Linked DNA regions of Homo sapiens: region 2 is linked to region 1. Evidence: promoter capture Hi-C in human tissues and cell types (Jung and others, 2019). All regions are on one chromosome and are shown on one strand. Each heading gives the region's core, a stretch centred on a gene start or on the middle of the fragment in contact. The rest is flanking DNA. Distances are from core to core; before and after follow the strand shown.

Region 1 (6,872 bases), core at 611-3,110:
TCTTTGTTTTTGGTTTTTTCCCCAAAGACAGGGTCTCACCCTTGGCCAGACTGGAGTGCAGTGGCGTGATCATAACTCACTGCAGTCTGGAACTCCTGGGCACACGGAGTAGCTAGGACTACAGGTTTTTGCCACCACGTCTGGCTAGTTTTTTATTTTTATTTTTTTAATGTTTAGTATAGACAGGGGTCTCCGTATGTTGCCCAGGCTGGTCTGAAACTCCTGACCTCAAGCCATCCTCCTGCCTATGTCTCTGTCTCTCAAAGTGTTAGGATTACAGGTGTGAGCCACAGCGCCCAGCTTCTCTCTTCGATTAAAAATAAAAACAAATTTCTGTCTGTTAGTTGAAGGCTCAATATTTGCACGTCAGTCGTTTCTTCCCATTCAGTCTACCCGGGAATATTAAAAGGAAAAATAACTATAATTTCTGATAAATTTAAAAGATAAAATATTTTATGTATAATAGCTATCGTTCAAAATCTCTCCAAGATCTGTGTGCATACTTTTCTTATTGTTGTAACTATATTGAATTTAACTTTTTCTTTAACTACCAAGGACTCCAGATTCACCGTCAACTTTCTTCCTGCATTCACTCTTACTGTTCAGTTCTGGGTTAAAAGACAGCGGGGCCTGAACGAAGTGTCTACAAAGCACAGTATTTGGAGAAGCTTTGTTGTTGTTTTTTAAAATAATTTTTTTAAAAAGGGATCCCGGATATCTTTTTTGTTTTTTTAAAAAATCTTTTTCTCATGTACGAGAAATACAGGGAAAAAAAGCAATCAGGTTAATGAATCATTCTGGTTTACTGGATTCCAATTGGTAGAGAATTTAAACTTAAAAACCAAACAAAACGAAAGAGCTCTTCAGTTACCTTATGTCGTAAACGAGTTAAAAGTTTTGTTATTTCTGAAAAATCAAAGAGCACTATCTGTACATGGTCATAACTGCAAAGGAAACAACGGCGTACCCAGGACAGGGGGAGCTTACTTTAAGAAGCTGCGTCTTTCTGGATCATGTTCCTTCGGGGCTGACCCTTTCGGGGAGTTTGGCTTTTAAAGCGCGGATCTCGCGACGCGCGGCTTGCAGGACTGCGGGGCCCGGCGGCCGAGACGCGGCATCCACAGGGGCCCCTCCGCGCGGCCGCGGCGGTGGTGGCGGGAACCTGGGACTGGCCGGCGAGGGGCCCCGCATGGTAACCGTCCCCGACCGCAAGTCATAGGCTGTGGGCACCGCGCAGAGCGCACCCCCCACCGAACTCCCCCCACCCCACCTCAATTCTCGAGACCGAAAGTGCGGAGCGCGGAGTCCTGCAAACTTGACCCCGAGCCAAGGTGCGCGAGGCGACGGCGAGTGTCCCCCGGGCTCCCTGCAGCCCCGGGGCTGGAAGCTCCGGCCTCCGCGCACCTCGTCCTCTGCCCGCCCGAAAGCGAAACCTGGCCGGCGGGCAGGAGGGGAGAGCTCGGCCTCGAGCTCTGCCTGGCGGGGCCCCGGCCTGGAGGCATCCCCGACCCGCACCTGGCGGCGCGACCCACCTACCTGCCCGTCCCCAAGGCGCCGCCAGGAGCAACAGCAGCAGCGGCGGCAGCGGCAGCGGCCGCAGGGCCGGGCGGCCGGGAGCCCGCATGGGCGGCGGGGCTGGGTCACATGTCGGGGGGCAGCAGACTGCTCAGTCCCACGCCCGCTGGGGCCAAGCGCGGCCGCGCGGCCTCAGCTCCGCGCCTGGGGCTCTGCGTGCCACGCTCCAGGCGACCTGAGTCCCAGGGCGCCTCCGCCACAGCCGCGTCCCCCAGGCTTCCCCAGAAACCAAGGGCGAGCGACTCGCGGAGCCCCCACGCGCGCTCCCCCGGCTACCCAGCTGGATGGCAGCGCGAGGGCAGTTCTCGCGGATTTATAGTCCCCAGCCACTCGGCTGTCAGTCCTGAGAGTCTGAGAGTTTCCACCTCTCGGGGTTCATGCCCAGACCAACCAGGTCACTAGGCAGGTAAAACCTCCTTCTGGTAATGAGCGAGGCGAGTGCATTGCAAAGAGATTCTGGTATTCAGGCCGGTCTGATGGTCAGTTAAAGTTCAATATCGGAAGACGGATGAAATAGAGCGTTATTTCTCGATATACAGTTAGGCACTCAGCCGTAGATCTTACAGTCATGCATCATTTAAGATGACAGGATTACCTCCTGAGAAATGTCTTAGGCGAGTTTCTTGTGTGAACATCTTAGAGTGTACTCACACCTATATGGTATAGCCTCTTACACGCCTACGCTATATGGTACAGGCTGTTGTTTGCTCCTAGGCTACAAACCTGTACGGCAAGTGACCATACTGAATACTGCAAGCAATTGTAACACAATGGTAAATATTTGTGTATCTAAACATGTCTGAACGTAGAAAAGGTACAGCAAAAGTACAGTATGAAAGATTTTAAAAATGGTACACCTGTATAGGGCACTTTCCATGAATGGAGCTTGCAGGACTGGAAGTCGCTCTGGCTGAGTCTGTGAGTGGTGAGTCAATGTGAAGGCCTAGGACATCACTGTGTACTACTATAGGCTGTATAAACACTGTATTACACTTAGGCTATGCTAAATTTATTAAAAAATTATTTCTTCAATAATAATAAATTAACCTTAGCTTACTATGATTTTTTACTTTCTACTTTTAAATCTTTTAAACTTTATTTATTTATTTATTTTTGAGATGGAGCATTGCTCTGTAGCCCAGGCTGGAGTGCAGTGGTGCGATCTCGGCTCACTGCAACCTCTGCCTTCCGGTTTTGATGATTGTCCTGTCTCACCCTCCAGAGTAGCTGGGATTACATGTGTGTGCCCCCACGCCCGGCTAATTTGTTTGTATTTTTAGTACAGACTGGGTTTCGCCATGTTGGCCAGGCCGGTCTCGAGCTCCTGACCTCCGGTGATCTACCCTCCTTGGCCTCCCAAAGTGCTGGGATTACAGGCGTGAACCACGACACCCGACCTAAACTTTTTGACTTGTAATAACGTTTGACTTAAAACACAAACACATTGTGCAGCAGTATGAAAATATTTTTTCTTTGTATTCTTTCTATAAGCTTTTTCTATTTTTAAATTTTTCTTTTTCTTTATTTTTTCTTTACTTTTTAAACTTTTTTGTTATAAACTAAGGCACAACCACACACATTAGCCTAGGCCTGCACAGGGTCAGGATTGTCAGTGCCACTGATGCCACCTCACATCCTGTCCTCCTGGAAGGTCTTTAGAGACAATAGGAATTTTTTCAGCTCTATTATAATCGTATGAGACCACCTTTGTATATGCAGTCTGTCACTGACTGAAAAGTTGTTATTTGATTTCATTCAACTCTCACAACCTGCAGTTAGGTCCTGGCCCTTTTTTCAGATGAGGCAAGGGAAACTCAGAAAGTCTAGGAATCATCATGAAGTCCCCCAAACCTGTGAGTGGCCTGTGACCAGTGGTGTGTGGACTTCCACACAAGGCGGTGGGTCCTAGGTTCCATGCTCTTTATAATGGGAGGGGGGAAGGGTGCAATTAAGAGGTGAGTCTTGAAATACTATATGAAAAATCTGAGAGAGGCTCTCAGCTTTGTACCTTTCTAGGTGGTTCTAAAGGTTGGGCACAGCCTGAAGATAGATACACGATTTACCTCAGATGTGTTCCATCTCTTTTGCCCTTAAATGTCTGTTTTCAAATGCTCCAATAAAGGGAAACGACACTCAAATTAGAGCAACTATTGTTTTCTTTTTCTTTTTCTTTTTCTTTTTAAAGGGGGTCTTCAGTATTAAAAAAGATCTTTTTTGGTGAGGAGGGAGTAAGGAGATAGAAGATGGGGCAGGATTTTCTGAGTCGCCTAAGTATGCTACTTTTTCCTTCCTGAAAGACTTGGAAACAGAGGAGGAATCTGGGTCAGAGGGCCCCTTAGGCTGGGATGTTAGCTTCGTGGTGCTGACGTGAGGCCTCTTCAAACCACTTTTCTTGTTTGTTAGCTGGTTCTTTTCCTTTCCACCAAAAGGGGCCCTGAAGGAATCCTGAAAGCTGGATGAGGAAAGAAGGGACTTGCTTCCTATTTGTTTGCTGTTCTTGTCACTAAGGCCCCACAGTGCCTCTTTACCCTGGCAGGGACAGCTAGTTCTAGGAGCAATTGTTTCTAGTTCCCAGCTTCTTCCTGTACTCCCAGAATCAGCTTCACTGCATCTCCTGAGAAATACCAGCACTGAGTAGGCTATGCCCCATTCTCAGAGGTCTGAGTCCCAGTTTCCTGGAGGCTTCGCTTCTGGGATCTGAACCCCACGTCTGCCCTGTGTTCCTTTAACCCTGACGGTGGTAGTTGCTTCTAGTAGTCACTCTGTCTCTTTCAATCTCAGTATTCCTGCTTTACTTTTTTAGTACTCCAACATCTGTTTAACCAATTCCTTACAGCAAATTCTTTCTGTTGAAATAACTAGTGTGGTTTCTGTTTTCCCAACTGGACTCTTATTGATTCCATTGTAATCCCAGAACGTTTTAGGAAGGACTCTGTGTGATCAGTACATTATCAATATTATCTTGAGTTGCTGTTGTTCTTACTTTTTGATTATAAATTGTATTAGTTTACTTTCATCATTATCATCTTAAGTCTTGTGGGTTAAATAGGGTAAATATTTGCTACAAAAGTGTTTGGGGCCAATCATTTTTGGATATCTAAATTTTGTATGCATTTCTATTCAAATATGAATCGTTCAGACCCTTCAAGAGGCTAAAGCAGACCTATACAAAGCCTTCCCTTATCTCCTAAGTCTTCTGAACTTGAACAGTGACATTTCATTATTTCACCAAGTTTTTCCTCCAGCTGGAAAGTGGGAACGGGGTAGGGGATGGAGTAACTGCGACTTGGAGTTTCTTCCCCCATGAGTGGGCTGTCAATTGTCTGAGAACAAACAGTTTTCTGCATGCCTCTCGTCCCCTCTCTCCTTTCCTCTTCAAGTTCCCCTTGGCACTTGTCAGAAGGCAGTCAAAATTTTACCTCTAAGGCTTGTCTTTTACGTGTTCACAAACTCACCACTCTGTCCTCAGAATGGCTAGGGTTCTACAGGATGAGTGTGACCTGAGAACTTGCCATGTATTCAGTTGATGTTTCCCATGCATTGAAATAAAGAGTGGAGTCAGTTTTTCTTTTGTTTGCATCTGTGACCCAGAACTCACCTTAGTGAGTTTCCTTAGTATCTTCAAATCTAACCTCTTACCCCCCTCTGCTAACTTTGGGAAGCAGCAGTCTTGGTTCCTCCCCATCTAAGCCTCCCAGGCAATATAATCTTCAGTGTGTTCTTCAGAGACTTTTGAAATGATGTTTTCGAATTGAGGTTTTCTTCTACTTCTCAACTTTGCAACTCCTCTTGCCATGATTTACCACATTGAGATCTTAATTTTGTGGAACCTGATGTATAGGATTTCCAGGCTTCCCGATGAAAAAGGCCATAAACCACTACTCCTTACCTCCCACCCCAAACACTAATACCACAGGCAAAAAATAATTTTTTTCTATCCTAGTTTAATTACTAAATAGTTTCCAAGGATAATACATACTAATAATACGAAGTTACTGAATTCTTTCTTTGAGTCAGATCCTACCTAAGAAATTTAAATTTCCTAACTACCTCCTTCAATCCTTACAACAATTCTGAGAGTTAGTTACATTACCCCAAGTTTCAAAACAAGGAGACAGACTTGGACAGGTCATTCGTTTAATAAGCAACAGAAACTGGAAACTGAATGCTGGTTCATCTATTTTCAAAGTTTGTGCTTTTAATAATTTCCTTATATGCCTCTTACACTTGAGAAAATGTTATGATTTACCTTTTATAATTAGGTCTACAATACATTGAGCTAATTTTTGTATATGAGGAAAGAGTAAAGATTAATTTTTTTCCATATAGATATCTTACTGGTTTTTGAGGTCTGAACTGTAAAACAGCATGAATATAATTGCTAAAGGCCTAATATTCAGCATATGTAATGAATTGCTTCAAACAAATTAAAAACAAAATAAAAAGACAATCTAATATTGAGTTTATATAGGTTACACACCACTTAGTTGCCACTGTCTTCTTCTGAGAGAGGAAGAAAAACCCTAGCTCCCTAATGTCAACAGATTTCTTGGAAAGTAAATTAATTCTCTCAGGAAGGCAAAGGGGAAAGTACCTACCCTGGAATATAAACATTTGGCTATGGTGGGGAGATAAATTTTATTACTCTCTGAATGAGACCAGATGGCTCCAGATCTAACACCCTTGCAATGTGAGGAGCAAATGATTCTGTGGAAGAGGAGACAGTCTATGGCATGCCAATTTTCTTTGCTCAGGGAGACAAACCATCCAGAAACGTGAAAATATTCATGTTTCCCTGACGTCTCATTATTTGAATATACTCCATTTGATTGCCCATTCTCCGGTTGATAGACATTTGGGTTGTTTCATTATTGAGTTGTAGGTGTCCTTTATGTATTCTGGGTACAAGTTCTTTGTCAGATATGTGCGTTGCGAATATTTTTGCCCACTTCATCACTTGCCTTTTCATTTTTACAATGATGTCTGCAAGAGCAAAAGTTTTTAATATTGATACAGTCAAGTTTTTCACTTTTTTTCGTTATGATTGTGGTGTCTCGTCTAAGAAGTCTTTGTGTATCCCAAGGTTGAAAGAAAGATGGCTTTTCCTAGAAATGTTATAGTTTTAGCTTTTATAATTAGGTCTGCAATACATTGAGCTAATTTTTGTATATGGTATGAGAAAAGAGTAGAGATTTTTTTTCCAAATAGATGTCTTACTGTTTTTGTACTATTTGTTAAAAAGACTTTCGTTCCACATTAAATTGCTTTAGCCATTATTGTTGAAAATCTATTGAAGA
Region 2 (7,189 bases), core at 1,724-4,223, 480 kb after region 1:
AGGTGTGAGCCTTCTGCCCAGCCACATTTTAGCCCTTTTTTTTTTTGAGACAGAGTTTTGCTCTCTTGCCCAGGCTGGAGTGCAATGGCGTGATCTCGGCTTACCGCAACCTCTGCCTCCCGGGTTTAAACGATTCTCCTGTCTCAGCCTCCTGGGTAGCTGGGATTACAGGCATGTGCCACCGCGCCTGGCTAATTTTGTATTTTTAGTAGAGACGGGGTTTCTCCATGTTGATCAGGCTCGTCTCGAACTCCTGATCTCAGGTGATCCACCCGCCTCGGCCTCCCAAAGTGCTGGGATTACAGGGGTGAGCCACTGTTCCTGGCCATTTTAGCCATTTTTAAGTGGCATGTTTACATGGCATGAAACTTACCACTTTAACCATTTTTAAATGTACAGCTCAATGGTATTAAGTACATTCATATCATTGTAGAACTATCACCACTATTTATCTCCAGAACTTTTTCATCTTCCTCATCTGAAACTCTGTCTCCATTAAACAATTTCTTGGCTGGGCATGGCAGCTCATGCTGTAATCCCAGCACTCTGGTAGGCCAAGGCCAGTGGATTACCTGAGGTCAGGAGTTCGAGACCAGCCTGGCCAACATCGTGAAACCCCATCTCTACTAAAAATACAAAACATTAGCTGGGTGTGGTGGTGGACACCTGTAACCCCAGCTACTTGGGAGGCTGAGGCAGGAGAATTGCTTGAACTGGGGAGGCAGAAGTTGCAGTGAGCTGAGATCATGCCATTGCACTCCAGCCTGGGCAACAAGAGTGAAACTCTGTCTAAAAAATAATAATAATAATTCTTGTTCCCCCCTCCCCCCAGCTCCTGGCAACCACCATTCTACCTTCTATATCTATTGAAGGGGCAGAAAAGTGTGGTACCTTTTCTCACCCATCATAAGAGTCACCGTCAACACTCCTGTAACAAAAGATAGGTTAACAAGAGAAAAGTACAACAAATTTATTTAATCAAAGTTTTATGTGACATGAGAAACATCAGAAATGAAGACCCAAAGATCCAGGAAAAACTGCCTATTTTTATGCTTAGGATCAATGAAGAATGAACAGCCATGTAGAAATGTCACTGGACCAAAGGGTATGATCTAATGGTGATAGGCTGAGGGGGAAACCCAGCAAGGCCTGCCTGTTCAGATTCTTCTTGGTCTCTCTGTGTAGTCTGCCTTCATCCTGGGCTTGGGTAGGACCCCTGTGGAATGAAGGTCTTTAAGAGAGAGTGACCTTTCTAGGTTATGGCTTGCTTGGGGGAAAAGAGGTTCTAGTTTCTATGACCCACCTTGGGAAAGAGGAATTCTGGTTTCTATGACTCACTTTATGGGAGAAAGAGAGGCGAGAAACAGGAGGATGGGAGAGGGTCAGAGAGACTGTTTCTGAGACCTTTCAACCTCCTTTTGTTCAAAGCATTCAGCATGCCAAGGTGCCATACTTTGGGGTATCATGCTCTAGCCCCAACATTATAAACTTGACTACTCTAGATACCTTAAATAAGTAGAATTATACAATATTTATCCTTTTCTGACTGGCTAATTTCACTTAGCACAATGTCCTCAGGGTTTATCCATGTTGTAGTGTATGTCAGAATTTCCTTCCCTTTTAAGGCTCAAAAGTATTTATCTATATGTGATATGGCTTGGCTCTGTGTCTCCAACCAAATCTCAGATTGAATTGTAATCTTTAATGTTGTGGGAAGGACCTGGTGGGAGGGACCTGGTGGTGGAAGGACCTGGGATCATGGGGGCTGAGTTCCCCCTTGCTGATCTCTTGAATGAGTTCTGGTTGTTTAAAAGTGTGTAGCACCTCCTTCTTCACTCTCTCTCTCCTACTGGTCATTTGAAGATATGCTTGCTTCCCCTTCATATTCCACCTTGATTGTAAATTTCCTGAGGCCTCCCCAGCCATGCTTGCTGTGCAGACTGCAGAACTGTGAGCCAATTAAGCCTCTTTATAAATTACCCAGCCTCAGATAGTTCTTTATAGCAGCATTATAATGGACTAATATAGTATTTATGTACCAGATTTTGTTTATTCGTTGATCTATTAATGGACAATAGGGTTGCTTCCATCTTTTGATTCTTGTGAATTATGCTGCTATAAACATGGATGCACAAATATCTCTTTGAGTTTATACTTTCTTTTCTTCTGGGTATATATCCAGAGGGGAATTGCTAGATCATACCATAATTCTATGTTTAATCTTTTGTGGTACTAAAATACTGTTTTTCACAGTGGTCTCACATTCTGACCAGCAATGTACAAGGGTTCCAATTTCTCCTTATTCTTGCCAACACTTTTTTGAAGCTAACCATCCTAATAGGTGTGAATGGTATCTCACTGTGGTTTTAATATGCGTTTCCCATAAAGAAAATATGGCACATATACACTATGGAATACTATGTAGTCATCAAAAATCATGTCCTTTGCAGGGACATGGATAAAGCGGGAAGCCATCATTCTCAGCAAACTAACACAGGAACAGAAAACAATACACCACATGTTCTCACTCATAAGTGGGAGTTGAACAATGAGAACACATGGACACAGGGAGGGGAACATCACACACCAGGGCCTCTTGGGGGGTGGGGCGCAAGGGGAGCAAGAGCATTAGGACAAATACCTAATGCTTGTAGGGCTTAAAAACCTAGATGACAGGTTGATAGGTGCAGCAAACCACCATGGCACATGTATACAATGTAACAAAGCTGCACGTTCTGTGCATGTATCCCAGAACCTAAGGTAAAATTTAAAAAAGAAAAAAATGCGTTTGCCAGATAATTGGTGATGTTGAGTATCTTTTCATGTATTTATTGGCCATCTATATATCTTCTTTGGAGAAATATCTATTCAAGTCCTTTGTCCATTTTTGAATTGAGTTGTTTTTCTTTTGTTAAGTTATAGGAGTTCCTTAAATATTCTGAATATTAACCCCTTCTTAGATACGTAATTTGCATATGACTTCTCCCATTTCATGGGTTTCCTTTTCATTCTGTTGATACTGTCTTTTGATACACAAAATATTTTAATTTTGATGAAGTCCAATTTTTCTAGTTTTCTTTTATTGTCTCTGCTTTTGATGTCATATCCAAGAAATAATTACCAAATTCACTGTCATAAAGCTTTCCCCCTATATTTTCTTTTAAGAGTTTTATAGTTTAGCACTTACATTTAGATCTTTGATTTATTTTGAGTTAATTTTTCTATGTGGTATAAGGTAAGGGTCCAACTTCATTTTTTTTTTTATTTGGCAGGGGGACAGGGGCATGTAGATATCCAGTTTTCCCAATACCAGTTTTGAAGACTATTCTTTTTCTATTGAATGACCTTGGCACCCTTGTCAAAAATTATTCAGCCATATATACAAGGGTTTATTTCTGGGATTTCTATCCTATTACATTGGTCTATATGTCTGTCTTTATGCCAGTACCACATTGTTTTGATAACCATAGCTTTGTAGTAAGTTTTGAACTCAGAAAGTGTGAAATCTCTGTTTTTTTTTTTCTAGATAGTTTTGACTATTTGAGATCCCTTGAGATTCCACATGAATTTTAGATTGGATTTTTCTATTTTTTACAGAAAACATAATTGGGATTTTGATAAGGATTGCATTGAATTTTTAGATCATTTTGGGTAGTAGTGACAACAATATTTCTTCCAATCTATGAACATGGAATGTCTTTCCATTTATTGGTACCTTCGTTTTCTTTCAGCAATATTCTGTAGTTGCACAAGTCTCACCTCCTTGTTAAATTTATTGCTAAGTATTTAATTCTTTTTATACTAACATAAATGGAATTTTCTTAATCTCTCTTTTAGGATATTCATCTAATTTAGTTTTTAATCAGGAAAAATATAGAACTTTTACCAAATTCCCACCTGAATCTCATCCCAAAGAAATTGGTACAATGAAGTGTGTAGAGGCTGACCAGAAACTACTTCCCAACTCCTGCTTTCCCAGCCAGGGAAAGCCATGACCTGCTTTCCCAGGTCATGCCCTGCTCTTCCTGGCAGGAAGCCACTAGTGGAAATACAAAGTCCAATGGAATCTTTCGTTCTTTCTCTCTCTTTCTTTCTTTCTTTCTTTCTTTCTTTCTTTCTTTCTTTCTTTCTCTTTCTTTCTCTTTCTTTCTTTTTCTTTCTTTCTTTCTCTTTCTTTCTCTCTCTCTTTCTTTCCTCTCTCTTTCCTTCTTTCTTTCTTTTTTTCTTTCTCTCTCTGTCTCTCTCTCTTTCTTTCTCTCTTGCTCTCTTTCGACAGAGCTTCATGCTGTCTCCCAGGCTGGAGTGCAGTCACATAATCTCAGATCACTGCAACCTCTGCCTCCCAGGTTTAAGCCACCTTCCCAAGTAGCTGAGACTACGGGCATGTGTGTGCCACCATGCCCAGCTAATTTTTGTATTTTTAGTAAAGACAGGGTTTTGCCATGTTGGCCAGGCTGGACTTAAGTGATTCACCCACCTTGGCCTCCATTACAGGTGTGAGCCACTCACTGTGCCTTGCCCTGGAATTTTTTTCAAGTATGACAATATTAAGATATCATTGTTATGTCAGAAAGCAGTTTTTATTTACACCATTTAATAGGTTAGAAATCCACCATTAATCTTGAAAATGAAACATTCTGAAGTCAGGAAGTTTCCAAGTAACGTTTTCGAAGAAAACTGATTTACCTACCCAAATATTTCGATGAATGCTAATATAACTTGCAAATAAGTATAAAAATAAGTAGCTCACTGATTTCATACTTCCATTTGAAAGCTATTAGTCACATAAACGGCATCTTTTTTCTAGATTTTTTAGGGGGAGGGTGTCATATAATGTATACAGATTTCATACACCACATTAAGGCAATAATTTCCCCCTCTCAAGAAAACAAGAACATTTCATGACATGCAGAATAAGAGGATGTGTGTGATGTGTGTGTGTTTTGCAGAAAGACATTTTCTTCTATTTTGTAGATAGTGACATAACCTAGTCATACCAACTCTCGCTAAATTTAAATATTAGATGAAAAATGAATCAGTCAAGCATTTTTGTCTTTGGTTTATTGATAATACTTTATATGTTTACACTCTCACATTTTCCCTTTTATGAGATAACATGCTTTCTTTAAAAAAATTTTTTACAAGTGTTCTTCTTTAAAAGAGGCTATAGAAACAGATTTTAGTAGTACTACGTGCTAAATAATTTTATAAAACTCCAGATAGATATACATTATCCTAAAGATACAACCTTGTTGACTTGACACTACAAAGGAAACAAAAAACAAAAACACACAAAGAAAACTCAGCAAACAGGAACAGAGAAAGAGTTTGGTTTCTCTGGTCGCCCAAGAATTAAGTTCCATAAGTTATAGAATGATACAACTCATTTTGTTTTTTTAATTTTAATTTGAAAAGAAAATGTATTAAAGTGAAAAGTTTGGTTCCACATTAGTCCGTGGCACATGTGCTTTTTAGTATCCTCACTTCTAAAGTGAGTATTAACACTTTCTGGCTGCCGTAGTAGTAGTGTACCTCAAGGTACTTTATTTCCATCTTTTAGAAAATTATTGTGATATATATTTTATTAGAAAAAACACTTTAGTGCTATTTGATAGAAAAATATAATAATAAATATACAAATGAGCGTGTCTATAATGTAATCAGGGTCCTCTTTAATGTGTTGCTCTGTGCAGCATACAGCCTGAACAACTGTACTAAGATAGCTCTATTCTTTGTTTGTTTGTTGTCTTAGGGCAAAAATCTTGGAATCATCCATGACATTTTTCATTCTTTCATGTCCTAAATGGGACCTATTGTTAGATCCTGTTTGTTGTTATTTCAAAAATACCCAGGATCCAACTACATCTTAACACCTGTATAGCTACCATTCTGTTCTAAGCCCCCATCATTTGGATTGGGAGTCTGCAAACTATATAGCCAGGGCCATAGGAGAGACAAGTCTGGCGACACCCATTTGTTTACTTATTGTCTGTGGCTGCTTTCCTGCTACAATGGAAGAGTTGAGTATTTGTCACAGCAACCACATGGTTTGCAAAGCCAAAAATATTTACTAGCTGGCTCTTTAAAGAAAAGGTTTGCTGACCTCTGACCTAGACTATTGCAGTGGCTTCATAAATTTGTCTTCTTGCTTCCACTCCTGCTCCTTTAATAGAGCAGCTGGAAACAGGTCATGGTATTCCTCTGTGCAACCCTCAGTGGCTTCTCAGAGTAAAAGGCAAGGTCCTTAACCAGTATCCCTCCCATCACTAGTAGAGCTGATTGCCTGATACCTCCCAGCTCATTCTCTCCCACTCTCCTCTTGCTAATTCTGCTCCCCATGGCAGTTCTTGGAAACATGTCTAGCATGTTCCCTCTTCACCTGCTGTTTCCTCCACCAGGAGTGCTCTTCCTCCCAGGTGGCTGCATGGCCCAGTCTCTTCCAAAGTCACCTTGCAGAGAGGCCTTCCCTGAAAACTCTTCACGAAGCAGCACTTTACTCCATCTTCTCCATCCATCTCCTCTGCTTCACTTTTTTTTTTTTCAATTAAATTTAATTTTATTTTATGTTCTGGGATACATGTGCAGGATATGCAGGTTTGTTACATAGGTAAACCTGTGCCATGGTGGTTTGCTATCAATCCATCACCTAGATAGTAAACCCAGCATGCATTAGCAATTTATTCTGATGCTCTCCCACCCCCCATTCCCCTGACAGACCCCAGTGTGTATTGTCCCCCTCCCTGTGTCCATGCATTCTCATCATTCAGCTCCCACTTACAAGTGAGAACATGTGGTGTTTGGTTTTCTGTTCCTGTGTTAGTTTTCCGAGGATAATGGCTTCTAGCTCCATCCATGTCCCTGCAAAGGACATGATCTCATTACTTTTTATGGCTGCATGGTATTCCACAATGTATATGTACCACATTTTGTTTATCCAATCTATCATTGATGGGCATGTGGGTTGATTCCATGTCTTTGCTATTGTGAATAGTGCTGCAATGAACATATGTGTGCATGTATCTTTATAATAGAATGATTTATATTCCTTGGGGTCTGCTTCACTTTTCTCCATCTCACTTATTCCTGGCTGACTTGGATTATATTTATCTGTCAGTGTATTCTCTGTCTCCTGCTACCAGAAGCAAAAAGTGAATACATGGATACAAGGAGGCCATGTCTGTCTTTTTTC

The links. The method cuts DNA at HindIII sites, captures the fragments that hold promoters and counts their contacts. A contact is called where the count stands out against the background at its distance.
Region 2: a fragment that was not itself captured here is called in contact with the fragment with the promoter of IL20RA in region 1 in 1 of the 25 tissues and cell types used here (hippocampus).

The regions. Positions count from the first base shown.
Region 1 is chr6:137,043,105-137,049,976 of GRCh38, forward strand. It overlaps IL20RA (interleukin 20 receptor subunit alpha), which reads right to left and starts at 1,861. Exons shown (of 7, transcript NM_014432.4): 1 at 1,537-1,861. The coding sequence starts at 1,624. RefSeq lists silencers at 1,354-1,403, 1,474-1,583, 1,614-1,673. The HindIII fragment of the contact is 8,751 bases long and covers 1-6,872 here.
Region 2 is chr6:137,524,219-137,531,407 of GRCh38, forward strand. No RefSeq gene overlaps it. Among named protein-coding and RNA genes, the nearest start is that of OLIG3, 33 kb to the left of the region's middle. The HindIII fragment of the contact is 5,378 bases long and covers 285-5,662 here.